Linked DNA regions of Homo sapiens: region 2 is linked to region 1. Evidence: promoter capture Hi-C in 16 types of primary human blood cells and fetal thymus (Javierre and others, 2016). All regions are on one chromosome and are shown on one strand. Each heading gives the region's core, a stretch centred on a gene start or on the middle of the fragment in contact. The rest is flanking DNA. Distances are from core to core; before and after follow the strand shown. Region 1 holds the start of MIOX (myo-inositol oxygenase). Region 2 holds the start of DENND6B (DENN domain containing 6B).

Region 1 (2,709 bases), core at 192-2,691:
TCCAGACACCTTCTCCTGACCCAGGCACCACCTGCTTTCGGGGCGATGGCCGTAGCCTCCTCCCAGGCACCTGTCTGCATCCCTCTGGCCAGTGCATGCTGAGCACGTGACCTACCCGTGTTGGGACACGTGAGGATACAGCCTTGACCCCCAGGGGCTGACATTCTAGGGGGAGATAGAAGGAGACAAACGTAGAAGGTAGAATAAGTGGGTGGTGGAGTGGCAGGGAGTGCTGAGTGCCACAGGAAGTCAGACAAGGAAGGAGAGTGTGGGGCAGGTGCCGTTTAAATGGGGGGCGCTGGGGTCTCCTCACAGTTGCTTCTCAGCTCAGCTGTGCCAGGATCTTGTTGAGTCAGGTCAGCTGCCCACAGCCCTCTTGCCTGACCCCTGAAGCCCAGAACTCTGATCTTCACAGCCCTAGGTATGGCCCCAGCACCCCACTGCCCTCTCTCCTGCCCCAGCCGACTGCTGTTCCCAGACTTCCCTGGCCACGCTCCAAGACGCCAGCTCTGCCGCGGGCACTTTGTTCTCACGGTGTCCTCCATGCCTGCAGGGCCCATGCATGGGAAGTTGCGTTGGCGGCCTGGGTGTTGGCGGTTCCGTGCCTGCTCCAACTCTCCGTGAGGCCCCTCTCCCAGAGCCTGACACACTCTGTGGCCGAACTCTAGGCAGGTGCCCCTGAGTCCTTTCCTCGACGAGGCCTGACCCCATCCCCATCCTCGCTGGGCCCGCCGACCCCGGTGTTAGCAAGAATCCTCTAAATCAGTTTATGGAGAATTACCCACCCTCGATATCTGATCCCATTCCTCATCTCCCACCCTTGATCTCATCACCCTGCCGGCCTCCTGCAAGATCCTCATTGAGCCACTCCAGTGAGAATCCCCCTACCCTCGAAGGCCGCCCTAACAACTTCCCATCCGCTGACCCCTCCAACGCCATCAATCTCCAGCTGTGGTTGTTGAACTCGGAGGTGAGCTCCTCTCACCACTCTCTTGAATAAAGCTTTTCTCACCATTTTAACAAGTCCTCAGAATCATCTTTTCTTAACAAGCTCCTGCCCCACCCAGAATCACGGGGGGCCTGGGGACAAGTTTTCACCTCCTGAGATCCAGTGGGGCAGCCGGGGAAGGGGTGGTGCAGAGGGGGCGTGTGCTTGAGGGTGGGGTCTTGGGTCTGCCCCTACTTGTGGGACCCCACAGAGGGGTCTAAGGCCAGGGCCCAAGTGGGAGGCTGGGCCCACAGATAACCCTAGGCAGGTCAGCGGCTCGGGACAGGAGTGTGAGGCTGAGTCAGGGCCAGAGGATGTGGGACTGCTGGGGGCTGCTGCTGTGCTGACACATTAACTCCCTGAGGCCGGGAGGAGGGTGGATGGTCATTTATTACTGCGGACACTTATGTAACCTGGGGTGTATATAGGAGCCTGGCTGAGGACACACTCGCCAGCCTGTGCTTTGCCACCTGAGCGCCGCTCCCTCTCAGGATGAAGGTGACGGTGGTGAGTACCCAGACCCCATGCAGAGAGGCTCTGCTGACTGCTCTCCTGGTGGCCAGCCACTCCCGCCCTCTTCTAGCTGGCACTGGCCAGCCCTCCTCCTCCGTCCAGCTGGGCAAGAGCCAGCGGCTGCCGACCCCCAGGCTCCCTGTGGACTCAGTCTCCTCCCAAAGCCACTTCCACCCCTCAAGGGTGGCCATGGGTGCCGCTCAGGCGTGGTGTCCCCTGTACCCCGGAAGCAGACGTCTGCTGACTTTCGCTTTGCAGATGAGGACCTGGGAGTGAGAGCTCCTGGGACTCGCTGAGGCCAGGGCAGGGGCTGGGATGATGGCGTGGGAGAGGCTGTGTCCTCGCGTGTCACCCACCAGCCCTCGAGCAGAGGCAGGCTTGGAGTCTGCAGCCACCCTGGGAATGTCTGTGCTTCCTCGTGGAGCTGACATGATGGTGAAATAGGTTCAATCCTCCACCTACCCAGGGCCCAGACCCTTCCCTGGTCTACCGACCTGATGTGGACCCAGAGGTGGCCAAAGACAAGGCCAGCTTCCGGAACTACACGGTGAGTACCTTGCCGTCCTGCCCCCCTTCTCCCCCATCCACACCCTGGGGAGCAGCACTTGCCCTTCACACAGTTCCAGGGGGTGCCCTGTGGGAACTCCCACCCCCATCACACCCTGTGGGGCTGCCTGGGAGAGGGGAGGCATGGGGCCTCGTGTGCAGGGTGGGGGTGGCGCCACTGACCCTCCGGCCTGCAGTCAGGTCCCCTCCTGGACCGTGTCTTCACCACCTACAAGCTCATGCACACGCACCAGACAGTGGACTTCGTCAGGAGCAAGGTAGGCGTTTCCTGCCGCCCCGTGCAAACGCGGAGGGACCCTTGCCCTCAGCCCCATGAGCCCACCAGGCGCCGAGGGGATGGAGAGGCCTGTGTGGTGGGCCTGCTGACCCTGGGCCACACTGCCTTCTCCTTCCCCGCCAGCATGCCCAGTTTGGGGGCTTCTCCTACAAGAAAATGACAGTCATGGAGGCCGTGGACCTGCTGGATGGGCTGGTGGATGAGTCGGACCCGGACGTAGATTTCCCCAACTCCTTCCATGCCTTCCAGACAGCGGAGGGCATCCGGAAGGCCCACCCAGACAAGGGTGAGCCCTGGCTGTGCTGCAGGGGGGCAGGTGCTGCCTCCAAGGGGCAGAATGCAGCAGCCTGTAGGGTGGGAGGGG
Region 2 (2,700 bases), core at 146-2,645, 160 kb before region 1:
GAGTCACCGCGTCCGGCCAGGAACCTCTTAACTTCTTTTGTGATTTTGTGGGGAACAATCTGGGCAACAGTATTGAACTAAGAAAGGTTTTCAACCCTGGGCAGGTCACCACACTTCTTGGTACTCAGCCCCCACCCAGTGATGCTGTTTGAGGCTGTGCACCTGCTGGGGACCGTGTGTGGTGGGAGGGGCTCCAGAGAGTGCTAGAGTTAATGCTTTTCTGTTTAGAAGACTATATGCTTCTCATGGCCTCTTGGAGTTCAGCAGGGCCTTAGAAAGCATCTCCCAACCACAGAGACGCGCTGCCTGGCTTTCCTGATGATGATGATTTGGCCTGATCTTGGACACCTGCGGTAATAGAGAGCTCACTACCCCTCACGAGGTTCCTTGCGCCAGCGCGGGGAAGCCTCCCTCCATCTGCAGGTGGGCCTCCCCTGTGCTGGTCAGCTCCCTGGTGTGTGTTACACAGGACACAGAGAAGATCATCCTGCGGGGCCTCCCTGGAGGAAAGGAGGCTGCCTGTGTGGGTAGGTGAGTGGAGGCCTGCAGGCAGCAGAAAGACCACATCGAAAGCCCATGGGCACAGCCGATGAACAGACCCCCACGAGCAAGAACACCACAAGACGCAGGTGGAGGGACGGGGCCCATGGGGTCTGGATCTGATGCTAGGTGAACAAGGAGGCGCTGCAGGGTTTTAAGCAGGAGAGCCACAAAGGTTGAACTCTGGGGTGCAGCTGGGGTGGGGATGACATCAGTGATGGCAGCAAAGGAACGGATCCGAGACCTTTGTTGCAGAAGGAGCCGTCAGCCTCGCCTATGCCCAGAGATGGGATGCGGAGCGGAGGGTAAGCCCGGGACTCTGGCGGGAGCCACTGAGGGGATGAAGGTGTCACTGCTCCGGTGGGGAATGGAGGGGGGAGATGTGAGACATTTACTGGGAAAAATCGAAAGAGTACCACTTAGGTTATGCAAAATGCTCCATCCCAATGTGAAGACAAGATCCGACTCCGAGCAGCTCGCCTTCCCTCCTCGGCCTGGGGAGCGCTTCTGGAGCCCGGAGAAGAGGCCCCTCCAGGAGGCGGCGGCCGAAGGCCAGGGAGAGTGCGGGGCGGCCGAGGGCCCCAAGCGAGGCGGGACTGGCCCCGAGAGGCGCAGCCCTGCCCACCCGCCCGCGCCCGCGCTCGCGCCCGCTCACCTCCAGCGCCTGGCCCAGCTCCAGGTCGAAGGTGACCACGCACACACACTCCAGCCAGGCGGAGAAGCGCGCCCAGGGCGCCGCCGGGGTCCGCGCCGCGCGACCTGAAGACGTGGGTCCAGCCGCGCCCAGGCAGCCGCGAGCCCGGCGAGGCCCTGTGCCCAACAGCGCGTCCATGGCGGCGGCCGCGGGTTGCCGGGGAAACGCGGGCGGGGGCGGCGCGCGTCCGGGCCGCTCCTCAGAACAGTCGAGCGGCCGCCGCGGCCCAGTGCGGCTCCCGCGCGGCCGCGCGCCCCCTAGCGCCCGAGAAGCGCCAGCGGCCGGGCGCCGCCCAGGGCACCAGCGAGCCGGACGCGCGCGGGCCAGAGCGGCCGGAGCCCACTGGGGGACTTCCGGGGAAGCGGCCGAACTGGGGCCTTCCAGGGTCCACGCCGTCTGAGGCCCGAGAGAGTCGGTTCGGCCCCGGTGTTCGCGGATCCCGGCTCGCGGGAGCCTCGGGGCCAGGCCAGGGAGGCAGAGCAAGCTGCAGCCAGCCGGCGCCGGGCTCGTCGGGCTTCGCAGGTCCGGCCAGCCTACCTCGCCCCACCGCGCAGGGGCCAGCGGCGTCGCGGGCGTTTTCGTGGCGGAATGGCGTCCTCACTGAGCGCCCAGCCACCACCGCGGACTCGCGCTCGCTTCCTCTGGGGCCCGCGCGGCCTGGGGTCGTGTCTGACCGCGGGTGTCCACGCAACACCTCTGCAGTTTCACTTTCCGGGGGAATCGCGGGGACCTGGAGCGAACTCTTCCCTCCCTCGCGAGGGCCCCGGGCCCCGCTGTGGTCCACAGAGCACCTTGAGGCCCGGCGTGGAAGGGCGAGTTTGGGGCTGTCGGTAACTTAATGAGGCACGCCTTTGAGTCGTGGGCCTCATGACGTTTCCGTGGAAGGCGGGCCGCATATACTGTGGTGGTCCCTTCAGATTACCACGTGTTGGCCAGACGCGGTGGCTCACGCCTGTAATCTCACCGCTTTGGGAGGCCGAGGTGGGGTGGCGGATCACGAATCCAGGAAATCGAGACCAACCTGGTGAAACCCTGTCTCTACTGAAAATACAAAAATTAGCCGGGCGTGGTGGCTGGCGAGCGCCGTAACCCCAGCTATTGGGGAGGCTGAGGCAGGAGAATCGTTTGAACCCCGGAGGCGAAGCTTGCAGTGAGCTGAGATGTCGCCATTGCACTCCAGCCTGGGCGACAGAGTGAGACTCCATCTCAAAAATAAAAAAATAAAAGATTACCACGTGTTGTTCGGATCATCTGGCCTAGGTGTGGGGTAGGCTGTCCCATCTAGGTTTGTCACATAACAAAATCGCCTAATGACACATTTCTCAGGACATAGCTTCACCGTTGAGTAGCACATGGCCGTATTGTTTTTTGTTTGTTTGTTTCTGTTGTTTTTTTTGAGACAGAATGTTGCTCTTGTTGCCCAGGCAGGAGTGCAATGGCATGGTCTTGGCTCACTGCAACCTCTG

The links. The method cuts DNA at HindIII sites, captures the fragments that hold promoters and counts their contacts. A CHiCAGO score of 5 or more calls a contact.
Region 2: a contact is called between the fragment with the promoter of DENND6B here and the fragment with the promoter of MIOX in region 1, in 4 of 17 cell types (M0 macrophages, M2 macrophages, M1 macrophages and 1 more). The highest score is 6.1, in M0 macrophages.

What each region holds. Positions count from the first base shown.
Region 1 is chr22:50,485,418-50,488,126 of GRCh38, forward strand. It overlaps MIOX (myo-inositol oxygenase), which reads left to right and starts at 1,442. Exons shown (of 10, transcript NM_017584.6): 1 at 1,442-1,495; 2 at 1,968-2,048; 3 at 2,245-2,325; 4 at 2,469-2,631. The coding sequence starts at 1,481. It overlaps ADM2 (adrenomedullin 2), which reads left to right. Exons shown (of 3, transcript NM_001253845.2): 3 at 1-1,020. The HindIII fragment of the contact is 4,673 bases long and covers 1,001-2,709 here.
Region 2 is chr22:50,325,617-50,328,316 of GRCh38, forward strand. DENND6B (DENN domain containing 6B) reads right to left here and starts at 1,396. Exons shown (of 20, transcript NM_001001794.4): 1 at 1,196-1,396. The coding sequence starts at 1,372. RefSeq lists a silencer at 1,145-1,784. The HindIII fragment of the contact is 18,876 bases long and covers 1-2,376 here.